3 separate regions of the Homo sapiens genome follow, and regions 1 and 2 are each linked to region 3. Evidence: promoter capture Hi-C in 16 types of primary human blood cells and fetal thymus (Javierre and others, 2016). All regions are on one chromosome and are shown on one strand. Each heading gives the region's core, a stretch centred on a gene start or on the middle of the fragment in contact. The rest is flanking DNA. Distances are from core to core; before and after follow the strand shown.

Region 1 (4,088 bases), core at 215-2,714, 1.1 Mb after region 3:
TGGCACAATCTCGGCTCGCTGCAACCTCCGCCTGCCAGGTTCAAGCGATTCTCCTGCCTCAGCCTCCTGAGTAGCTGGGACTACAGGCACGTGCCACCATGCCCGGCTAATTTTTGTGTTTTTAGTAGAGACACGCAATATTTCTTCTCATATTTTCAGGATTTGAGCTTCTTCCCCAGGACCCTTGACACAAGCCAGAAGCATTTTTAAAAACTCTTCCCAGAGGGCAGGGATTTGGGGACACTGTTGTTTCCGAGGAACTTAGGGAGGCGTTACCCGGTGGGCAGGTGCGGATGCTGGAGTCTCTGCCAGGCTCAGCAAGAGGACGAGGAGGAGGACCAGGGGGACGGAGGGAGGAGCCATCGAAGGCAGGACGACAGGTGCCTACAGCTGCGGAACACGCTGCAAGGAGAGAGCGGCCAGTCATTTTCCGAAGCGGGGGCCAGGTGCATTTCCGATAAGGACAGAGGAATTTATTTTTTAGCTTTATGGAGGCATCATCGAGATACAAAAATGGCGCACATTTAATGTACACATCTTGAGGAGTTTGGACGTGTGCAAGCAATTAAGCCTCTCCTTCCCCCATCATCGGATCAGGCCGACCTGGTCCCCCAGCGCCCATGCCTTCTGCCCCACTGCCTCCACCACTCCATCTTCAAACCTTTCCGTCCCCTTACCTGCCCCTCACCTTTTCCCTGCCACCAATGCTGGGGTTTCTCCTGTTATCCCCATCCCTTCAAGCCCCCCATCACTCTCCCAGGAGCCCCTCACTCCCTCCACCCCTCTGCCCTCCTGGCCTAGGCTCTCACCCCAGTGCAGCTTGGATCCACCCCTCTGCCCTCCTGGCCTAGGCTCTCACCCCGGTGCAGCTGGCATCCACCCCTCTGCCCTCCTGGCCTAGGCTCTCACCCCGCTGCAGCTGGCATCCGCCCCTCTGCCCTCCTGGCCTAGGCTCTCACCCCCGTGCAGCTGGGATCCGCCCCTCTGCCCTCCTGGCCTAGGCTCTCACCCCGCTGCAGCTGGCATCCGCCCCTCTGCCCTCCTGGCCTAGGCTCTCACCCCGGTGCAGCTGGGATCCGCCCCTCTGCCCTCCTGGCCTAGGCTCTCACCCCGGTGCAGCTGGGATCCGCCCCTCTGCCCTCCTGGCCTAGGCTCTCACCCCGGTGCAGCTGGGATCCGCCCCTCTGCCCTCCTGGCCTAGGCTCTCACCCCGCTGCAGCTGGCATCCGCCCCTGTGCCCTCCTGGCCTAGGCTCTCACCCCGCTGCAGCTGGCATCCGCCCCTCTGCCCTCCTGGCCTAGGCTCTCACCCCGCTGCAGCTGGCAGCCGACCCTGTGCCCTCCTGGCCTAGGCTCTCACCCCGGTGCAGCTGGGATCCGCCCCTCTGCCCTCCTGGCCTAGGCTCTCACCCCGCTGCAGCTGGCAGCTCTCCGCAGCTCTCTCTGGCTCCTCGCTCCAGCGCCTGGACTCTTTCACGCCCCCTGAGCTTTTATGCCTTCTGAGGAGACAATAGAAGGGAGGGGGGAAAGGGAGGGGATTAGAAGAAGGGAGAGGGAGTGAAGAGGATGGAGGTGGGGGAACAGTCATCCACTCCAGGGGCTTTCAAACGCTGGTCTGTGAGGTCAAAACACACACTTCATCGCGGGAAATGCTGCTGTGCCTTGGTTTCCCCTGGTAGACCCTGCCCTTCCCCCTCCTTCTGTGCCCCTTTATCTTCCAGCTGTCCTGTTCCAGACTTTGCAGCTATTCGAGGGCTCCCTCCCTCCCTCTTATCTGCGTCTGGGCCTTGACCTGTGTCTTCCTTGGTTGTCTCCACCTGCCACTGGTGTCTCCGTAGCCCTGTCCCCTCTGCCCCCATCAATCCCTCCAAGCCTCCGCAGCTCCCTCACTGAGTTGCATTTCTTCTGTCTTGCACGGTAGACCCTGTTTATTTGTTTACTTGTGAGCTGTCTATCTCCCCGCCCCCCACCTACCACCCTGGCTAAAGGAGACCCCATGAGGGGTGTCAACTGTGTCTTGTTCATGGCTGCGTCCCTAGGCCGGAAGCTCTCAACCAGGAGTGACTCTGCCCCGATGCTGCCCCAGCCTCACCCCAGGACATGTGACCAAGTCTGGAGACAGTTTTGTTTGTTCGTTTTTTTTGTTTTTGTTTTGAGACGGAGTCTCGCACTGTCGCCCAGGCTGGAGTGCAGTGCTGTGATCTCGGCTCACTACAAGCTGTGCCTCCCGGGTTCACGCCATTCTCCTGCCTCAGCCTCCCGAGTAGCTGGGACGACAGGCGCCCGCCACCACGCCCGGCTAATTTTTTGTATTTTTAGTAGAGACAGACGGAGTTTTACTATGTTGGCCAGGCTAGTCTTGAACTCCTGACCTCGTGATCTTCCCGCCTCAGCCTCTCAAAGTGCTGGGATTACAGGCGTGAGCCACCGCGCCCGGCTGGAGACATCTTTACTTGGGACTTGGGAGGGACTCCCGGCATCTCGTGGGTGGAAGCCAGGGACGCGGCTCAGCCTCCCACAGTGCTCAGGAAAGGCCTCCCCGATGGGAAGGACCCAGCCCCGAAAGTCAATAGCTCCAAAGATGAGAAACCTCACAGCAGCCCCTAAAACAGTGCCCGGAGCTCACTCAATACTTGTTGGGTGAACGAATAAGGAGTGTGTCGTTGCTGCGTCTCTCTCCTGTCATGTGTGTTGATCTATCTGTCTCTGCAGCACGCTCTCTCTTTGCCCTGACGTCACCTGCTTTCCAGAGGAAAGAACCTTGGAAGAGGTTTTACTCTTGCTGTTGCCCTTTGCTGTCTAAGGGACAGAGGGGACGCCCTGGTCCTGGCTGGGTTCTGTCTCCTCCTCTCCACCGTGGAGGACACATTGCCTCCAAGGTCCTTCCAGCATTCTGTCGGTTTGTGGCTGGCACTTGTATCTCTGTCCTGTCTTTACACATCCCCATCAGCCCTTACCCCATCCTTTCTCATCCCAAGGGGAAAGGGAGACCCCAGGAGAGGGATGGAGTGAGAAGACGACGTGGGGGATTACAGACACCCTGGTGGGCTCCTGAGCCCCCTCCGCTGTTTCTCCAAGTCCCTCACTTCTCATCCAGAGGATGACAACAACGAGGAGGAGGAGGAGGAGGAGGAGGAGGAGTGGGCAGGGGAGGAGGAGGAGGGGGAAGCTTTTATAGAAGACAAACTGACAAGAAGGTGTGAATGGCTTTGCTGGGAAGGAGAAAGGAGGAGGGAGTGACGCCCACTGCACGGGAGACAGGACTGAGGAGGCGACGCTGAGAGCTTGAAGCTGGGTTACCTGGAGCCCAATGGAGGGTCAGAGAAACAGTGGGAAGTCCTTGCCTCACTGCCCATTAGCTAGTTTGTGAAAAGTAAACGGGGTAGGTCCAAAGCTTGCTCTATCTCTCTTACACACACACACACACACACACACACACACACACACGCAAAACTCAAATGTGGTGCAAGAAATGTCACAATGTCACTTTCTTCTCATTTCTTTCTTTTTTTTTTTTTTATTGAGATGGAGTCTCACTCCGTCACCCAGGCTGGAGTGCAGTGGCACAATCTCTTGTCACTGTAGCCTCCACCTCCTGGGTTCAAGCAATACTCCTGCCTCAGCCTCCCCAGTAGCTAGGACTACAGGTGTGTGCCACCAAGCCTGGCTAATTTTGTATTTTTAGTAGAGATGGGGTTTCACCATGTTGTTCAGACTGGTCTCGAATTCCTGACCTCAGGTGATTTGCCCTCCTCGGCCTCCCAAAATGCTGGTATTACAGGTGTGAGCCACCTCACCCGGCCATCTTTCTTCTCATTTCTGTAACTGAGTCTGTGTCCCTCTTAGTAAATGCAAGCTACAGACACGAGCACCCTTTCCTTCAGAGGACGCTGCAGTTTCTGACCCAGCATCCACCTGGCTCTGGCTGGAGATGAATCTGGCTGGCTTTTAGTTAAATGCCTGCAGCTCCTCCAGGCGCCCCACATGCCATGAGGGTGTGGACTCTATGCCTGGCCTAGGGGTGAGAAGGAGACTGGGATCTGAACAGATCCTTCCCTCTCTCTTTCCTTCAGTGTGGGTAGGTACCTT
Region 2 (3,770 bases), core at 731-3,230, 1.2 Mb before region 3:
AATCACCTACCTTGCCTGCACTAACTGGTGATAATAAAGACCTTATTGATCAGGTCACCTTTAATCTTAGGGGTTCTGTTGGGGTAGGTTGAGAAAATGAATGGATAGATTGGGGAGTGCCTTTTGGGGGCACAAAATCTGCCTAAGGGCACAGTAGAAGAGCGGGTAGTTGCTCTGTCCTGTTGTAGCCTACTTTGCATTGCTGTGTGAAAGACTGGGAAAGACTGAAAGGCTCTGGATTGAACATAGTGGCCTGTTTCAGTTACCGTAGGGCCCAGAGCTTACCCAGAGGAAAAATAAACTCATCTACAACACTAAAATAGTCACAGGGTCACCAAGGCAAAGACCTAGAGGGGTCCATGGAGGACTCTATGTGCATAGAGAAACACTGGATGTGAGGTAATAACCAGGGATTTGGGTAGACTGGTGAACTAGGGCACATGCCATCATGGACAAAGGAATAGCCATAGTTCCCCATCAACTGGGACTGTGCAGGGTGAGGGTGTGCAGAACAACTCCAGAGCTACAGACCTTTGTATTTGCCATGTTAAAGTTTTTGCCACAGTTAAAGCAGATAAATGCAATGTCATGTACATTCACTTCACCTCTCTCAAACTGTATCTTGGCACCCATCACTCCCCAGGTAGGAACTGGGAGCTGAGAGAAGTGATAGCCTGACGTCCAGGAAAGTGGTTTTTGCAGTCTGGCCAGGGTTTCTGGTCACTAACACACACTTCATGCCTTCACAGTCTTGCTGGCCAACAGAGTGGGCACAGGCAGATGGGGGCATTTAACACAGTTGACAGAGCTGGTATTTTAGAAGGAGCTAGAGATCCAGAACCTTGTAGAATATGGTGTTTGGCACCTTTTTTTTTTGATATGGAGTCTTGCTCTGTCGCCCAAGCTGGAGTGCAGTGGCGCGATTTTGGCTCACGGCAAGCTCCACCTCCTAAATGGCTCACGCCATTCTCCTGCCTCAGCCTCCCGAGTAGCTGGAACTACAGTTGCCCGCCACCACACCCAGCTAATTTTTTTGTATTTTTAGTAGAGACGGGTTTTCACCATGTTAGCCAGGATGGTCTCGATCTCCTGACCTCCTGATCTGCCTGCCTTGGACTCCCAAAGTGCTGGGATTACATGCATGAGCCACCGCACCTGGCCGGCACCTATTTTAAAAAGCTTATTTACCATGTAATTTCAGCATCATCACATGTGAGCTGCTGCTGTTTCTTTGACCTCCCCCATACAAGGAAGTACTCATGAGAGCATTGGCTGGGATGTGAACAGGAGTCCCCATAAAGGAGAGGCCTGGCCAGGTGCAGTGGTGCACACCTATAGTCCTAGCTGCTTGAGAGGCTGAGGCAGGAGGATCTCTTGAGCCCAGGAGGTTGAGTCCATCCAGGGCAACATAGCAAGGCCCCATCTCTAGAAAAGAAGGGTGGCCTGGGCTCACATCACTGAACAGCAGTTTCAGTAGCCACTGCTGCTTCCACATCTGTCCTAGATCCCTCTCTGTTCTCCCTGCCTATGTGAATGTCACCTAACAGGCTCAGTAGTGGGATATGTGACAGGACCAGTACTCCATGACTGGTCGTTCCTCACCCTGACCATGGCACCCTTGCCCTGCCAAAGATTGTACTCCTGGCTGAACGTTAGGCAGTGTACTCCAGGTAGAAACCCCACACAAGGGAGTGGATCAAACCTTCACCAACAGTAGACCATTTATGGTGAAGACCACCTTTTCAGATGTGACATGGCTCACAGTAAGAGCACTTTTCAGTTCATGCACAGCAAAATTCATAAGTGAGAGGACTCAAGGGCCAGGCATTTGTGAAGGCTTTCCAGGGTAACTACCCCCTTCCAGCACTGGAGTACCAGAATAATGAGAAGCTCAAAAGAGAATGTGGAAAGGCCTTCCTTTCTCCATCACCAGAGTACTCATGGCACAGGGAAGCCATGAAGAAGAGCTGAGTGAGAAGATGCTGCCACACAGCTCTAACATCAGATAACACCGGGCAGGCCATGATAGGGAGAAGCCCTTCAAGAGCAGTGGCTATGGGAAGACATGAAGACTTTTGCCCTCTTCAACCACCTAAGAACCCACACTGAAGAGAGATCTTTAAATACTTGGTATGAAGAAAGACCCTCAAGAAGAAATCGATTCTTATCTATAACCAAAAAATTCACAGTAGAGAAAACCCCTGCATCTAAGGAATGTGGGATGGTCTTCAGTCACCTCTCCTATGTGAGAAAGCTATATAAAGTACCTATGGGAAAAAGGCATTACAAATGCAGTGAAAATGGGAAAGCCTTCAGCTATAGACACCCCCTTTTAAGAAAAATCACCAGAGAATTCACAAGAGAGTTATGGGCAACAAATGTGGGAAAGCCACAGCTCCCAGAATCTTAGGCGGCACTGTATTACTGCTATTGCAGAAGCCATCTGTATTAGTTACCTATTGCTGTGTAACAAATTACTCAAAACCTAGTGGCTTAAAACAATAGTCACTATTTCACAGTCTCTATAGGTCAGGAACTTTGGTGCAGCTAGCTGACTCCTCTTTAGGGTTTCTCACAAGGCTAACATCAAGATGTCAGCTGGGGGTGTATCATCTGAAGGCTTGACTAGGGAAGGCTCTGCTTCCAAGCAAACTCATGTAATTGGCAGCATTCAGTTTTTTGTGGGCTGCTGGACTGAGGACCCGTCTGTTGGTCTGAGACCTCCTCCAGTTCTCTGCCACATGGGCCTCTCCAAAATGGCAGCTTGTCAATCAAAGCTTGCAAGCTGATCATGCAGTGGAGAATACCAACAAGTCAGTCATTTGTAACCTAATAACAGAAGTGAGATCCCATCATCTTTGCTAAATTTAGTTAGAAGCAAGTCACTTGGTCCAGCCCACAGTCAAGGGGAGAGCATTACACAAGAGCATGAATACCAGAGGGCAGAGATCATTGGAAGCCATGTCCAAAGCTGCCTGCCATACTGTCTCATCTCTGCCACCTGGCAAGATCTCATGATATGTATCAGTCTCCCTCACTGTGCTAAGGGAAAGCAGACTATACTCCCTTTTCCATTCTCTAGAGAGAATTACATAGGCTTTGAGTACCTTCATTTTCTTTCCCACTGATGGCTTTAGATTTTGGTATGACAATTCTTGCTAAGATCTGAGCTGGTGTCTTCTGGAGCTTTCCAGAAAAGGTTTCTTGGCCGGGCACAGTGGCTCATGCCTATAATCCCAGCACTTTGGGAAGCTGAGGCAGGCAGATCATGAGGTCAGGAGATCGAGACCATCCTGGCTAACATGGTGAAAACCCACCTCTACTAAAAATACAAAAAATTAGCCAGGTGTGGTGGCGGGTGCCTGTAGTCCCAGCTACTTAGGAGGCTGAGGCAGGAGAATGGTGTGAACCTGGGAGGCAGGGTGTGCAGTGAGCCGAGATCGTGCCACTGCACTCCAGCCTGGGCGACAGTGTGAGACTCCATCTAAAATAGAAGAAAAGGTTTCTCTTCATGGACATTGTTTGCATCTACATGTGACACTTAGGAATGATCTGTTTAGTCTCAATCACTCACTCCTGGATCTGCCTGTCTCTCTCTGAGATAACAAAGGCCTTAATGTTTAGCCACCTGCATCAGAGTTGGTGAGGTGGTTTGAAACAATTCATCCTAATATAAAAAGAACAGCTTTTGTAAGGGGGCACTGAGTGTCTCAAACAGCCGCATGGGCAGGAAGAGTGCTCAGTCCAGTTTTGGTTGAATTTGTCTTGTT
Region 3 (4,017 bases), core at 1,169-3,668:
TCACCCTGGAAGTGAAGCCTGCCACAATTTCCGTCTGAGGTGGAACACTTACCATGAATTGTATGATTACAGTGGAATCTTTTTGGTCCAGTAACTCCATTTCCTCCTTTTAAATTGCACCAGTTACTGGTGTGTGGGGTGTGGTTTTCCTCTCCTTTTTATGTGGTCTTATAGGATGGATGGTAACATGGACACAGATCCTCCCTGTTGTCCTAGCACAGCAAGTAGCCAGACATAGAACCTACATTGAGCCACTCAGATGATCTCTCACAGGACTTGAGGCCCGAGGAAGTGAAACAGAAACAGGAGGAAAGATGGAAGACCACTCATCCTGACACAGCAAGCTGATTGGACCATTGCTCCTGGGAAAATCATTGCCATGGTTCCCTTTCCGGAACCCTCTAGAAATCTCTTTGTACCTATCTCTAAGCCAGTTCTAGCTATTTATTCAGTGAACTCCTTCAGAGCCTTTCAATATGTTTCTTTACATAAGGCAGTGGAGTTAGATTCTGTTGCTTATAACCAAAGAATCCAAACCTATACGCAGTACTTATTAATATTCTGGAGATACAATGAGGTTAATTAGGGTATCCAAGGATAAAGCTGTAGAACATACGTGCCATTATATTAAATTTACACAATAACATTCAGAAGTAAACTTCTCAGAAGGCAATGCGGACCCTCCTGACAGCCACAAACAGAGCTCCCACCAGCCCACAGTAAACTCAGAGACCCCAGAGCCTCCAGACCCGCACCTCACCGTGGCTGTGCGCTGTTCATCTAATTTCTCGCTTTTCTGCAGCTCCTTGTAGAGCTCACCCCTTGGAGCATATTCCAGAATCAGGTACACCCGGCGTGCATCATGGAAATAGTTATACAGGCGCAGGATATTGGGGTGTCTGAAGGATTAATGTTGGAAGAGTCAGATTTCTCCCTGAGGCCTATCATATGATGCCACCGTCACTGCCTGGTCACACAAGTGGCAAATTATGCTGGGACCAGAATAACAACAGCCCTATCTGGGAGCAAGTGAGGGGAGAACGGAGAACAGGAACCAGGATTCGAGTGTCTGACCCAGGGTAGGAGGTAGTGTAAATGGAATGAACTGCAGAGAAGTCTTCAAGGTACAAGTGCAGGGTTTACTTGGGGTTAGTATTTGGGGAAAATGCTGGGCTCAGACGTCAAAGATGAAAGAGGAAGCAGAGACTGTCCTTACTGTAGATGAGCCTGGATCTCAATTTCCCGGCGCAGCTGGTGCTCCAGTCCTTCCTTCTCTATCTGCGACTTGAAGAGAACCTTCAGGGCCACAATGAAATGGCTTTCCTTGAGCCGAGCCAGGTACACATTCCCAAATTTCCCCTTGCCCAGGGGACGCCCGATTTCAAAGTCATCGACTGTGAGGCGCCGCCTGACAGGAGAGGAAGAAAAAAGCCTCAGCTTGGGAGGTAGGGTAGGCGGAGGGAAAGTCAGGGATGCCAATGCTCCCCTTCCTCTTTCATTGTATCCTTCCTCTGCCGCTTTCCCTTCTCACACAGACCCAGCCCTATCAGTAGTTCTCGTTCCCAGGAGCCAGCACCCCACACACCCAGTCTGTTCTTCATCCCCACGTCCCACCTTCCTTCCTTTTCCAGATACCAATCCCAAGGGACTCACATGGCTGGGCTGCTGGGCTGCTGGGCTGTTTGGTTTGCTGTAGCCACTGAAAGAGAGGAGGAGGAGGGAGATAGGAAGGGAGAGGGGAGGGAAGGAGAAGGGGAGAGAAAGAGAGGAGAGGAGAACAGTAGAGAAGGGAATAGGGAGCGAGAGGTGAGGGGAAGAAGGGGAGGAGAGAAAGAGAGGGAAGGGGAAGGCAGGGAGAGGGGGAGGGAGAGGTAAGGGGAAGAAGAAAGAGTAAGGTAAGGTAGGGAGGGGAGGAGGAGGTGAAGAAGAGGCAGAGAGAAAGGAAGGGGAGGAGAGAGTAGGGGAGGGAGAGGTGAAAGAAAGAATTGGAGGGAAGGGAGGGAGTGGGGAGAAAAGAAGAGCGTTGGGGAGGAGGAGAGGGAGGGGAGATGTCAACACATGTGTCTTCTGTGCACCCGACCCCTGGCCCAGTCCCCAGCCTTCCCTGCGTCCTTTCTCTGGCGCTGGCTCTCACACTCTTCGCCTGCAGGTTGAGCTTTGCCCAGCTGCACCACAGCTCTGGGGGAGCTCATGGGGAGAAGAGGTGAGGGCGCGGACGCCTTCCTGAACCCTCTGGATGGCTGTTCCCGTTCACAGGGTCCTGAAAGGGGTGGGGGGTCACTTTCTGGCCGGGGCGCTTCCAATCCTGCTCGTCCTGCAGCCTCACTGATGTCTCACTGCTACACAGGCTTCGGGATCCGCGGCGTCGTGAGCAGCCGTGGCTGCGCGGCCTTCTTTTATACCCGGCACCAACCGCTCAGAGAGGTACTTCCTGGCTGGCTCCTATTGGCTGAAATTCCTGACGCCATCGGAAGTGCGCCCAATAGAAAGGACAGAAACGGGAGCCTCAGTCCAGGGTTCCCGGGTTGGGGCGGAACTGGAGTGCTGCGGTCCGGGCTGGGCACTGAAAGCGAGGGCCAGGGGTGAGGCCCGAGAAGGAAGGAGACAGAGGGTGCGGAGAGGTGGTGATGGCCGTTGTGGGAATGAACAACGCATACACCCACGGGGTGTGCATGCGTCAACTAGGAGAGAGCCGCGATGCACGTGGGAATGAACAGACGCCCACTCCTGACGTGCTGGAGCCTCGTGCAGCCCGTGACCCTAAACCACTTCGCGCCTTGTGCAGCCGGCGACCCCAAAACCACCTTGCTTCAAGGTCACGTCCGATTCAGGCCACTCTCCAGGGTCACCGCGATGGGGCTCCCTGAAGCCTGCGGCTGTGCCTGCTCACAGCCAGGACGCCACCAGTCCAGCTCACTTACCCCTCTCCTCCCACTCGCCAAATATTTGTTGGACCCTGTAATCAGTTTGTGGATTTGGCCTCAGATCGTAAAATCAGCCCCCACGTATTTGTTTAGCAAACACATAAGTTTCAAAAACATTAAAAATTGAATTCTTTTAGACAGGGAACATATCTTGCAGAAATATAATTGAAGGCCTGGCGTGATGGCTCATGCCTGTAATCCCAGCACTTTGGGAGGCCGAGGCGGGCGGATCACCTGAGGTAGGCAGTTCGAGACCAGCCTGGCCAACAGGGCGAAACCCCGTTTCTACTACAAAAATTAGCCGGGTGTGGTGGCGCATGCCTGTAATCCCACCTACTCAAAAGGCTGAGGCAAGAGAATCGCTTGAACCCTGGAGGCGGAGGTTGCAGTGAGCCAAGATCATGCCACTGCACTCCAGCCTGGGCGACAGAAGGAGAACGAGACTCTGTCTCAAAAAAAACAAAAACAAAAACAAAAAAACCCAAAAACAAAAAAGCTCGTCTCAAAATATTTGGGGAGACCTATTTGAGTAATAAAACTCTGGTCTCTCATTTAGCTCGATTGATGTGAATTAAACCCTTTATTGCAATTATCCTGTCTTGATAAGTCGACTCTATCTGGGGAGCAGGGAAAATAATGAACCCATTAGGTGGTTACAATAGGTGGATCAGGGTAATGGCGCTTAGCTCAGGCCAACCATTCCTTTCTCAGAGGCTTTCCCAAACCTGTCTGTTTGTTTGTTTATTGAGACGGAGTCTTGCTCTGTCACCCAGGCTGGAGTGCAGTGGCTCGAACTCAGCTCATGCAACCTCCGCCTCCTAGGTTCAAACATTTCTCCTGCCTCAGCCTCCTGAGTAGCTGGGATTACAGGCACCTGCCACCATGCCCGGCTAATTTTTGTATTTTTAGTAGAGACAGGGTTTCACCATGTTGGCCAGGCTGGTCTCGAACTCCTGACCTCAGGTGATCCACTCGCCTCGGCTTCCCAAAATACTGGGATCACAGGTGTGAGCCACTGCGCCCAGCTCCAAACTGTCAATTTAAAACAGCCCCCACTACAACGTCATCCTGTTCTGTTTTTCCTTAGGTCACT

The links. The method cuts DNA at HindIII sites, captures the fragments that hold promoters and counts their contacts. A CHiCAGO score of 5 or more calls a contact.
Region 1: the fragment with the promoter of GALP here is called in contact with the fragment with the promoter of AURKC in region 3 in 1 of 17 cell types (neutrophils); the score reaches 5.4 in neutrophils.
Region 2: a contact is called between a fragment that was not itself captured here and the fragment with the promoter of AURKC in region 3, in 1 of 17 cell types (neutrophils). The highest score is 5.0, in neutrophils.

What each region holds. Positions count from the first base shown.
Region 1 is chr19:56,173,384-56,177,471 of GRCh38, reverse strand. It overlaps GALP (galanin like peptide), which reads right to left and starts at 1,464. Exons shown (of 6, transcript NM_033106.4): 1 at 1,410-1,464; 2 at 277-402. The coding sequence starts at 363. RefSeq lists enhancers at 1,228-1,778, 1,779-2,329. The HindIII fragment of the contact is 6,092 bases long and covers 1-3,170 here.
Region 2 is chr19:58,429,101-58,432,870 of GRCh38, reverse strand. ZNF132 (zinc finger protein 132) reads left to right here. Exons shown (of 3, transcript NM_003433.4): 3 at 1-57. It also overlaps a transcript of ZNF324B not described here. Among named protein-coding and RNA genes, the nearest start is that of ZNF132, 9.2 kb to the left of the region's middle. The HindIII fragment of the contact is 1,598 bases long and covers 1,182-2,779 here.
Region 3 is chr19:57,229,424-57,233,440 of GRCh38, reverse strand. AURKC (aurora kinase C) reads right to left here and starts at 2,418. Exons shown (of 7, transcript NM_001015878.2): 1 at 2,135-2,418; 2 at 1,654-1,699; 3 at 1,217-1,408; 4 at 761-899. The coding sequence starts at 2,192. The HindIII fragment of the contact is 17,293 bases long and covers 1-4,017 here.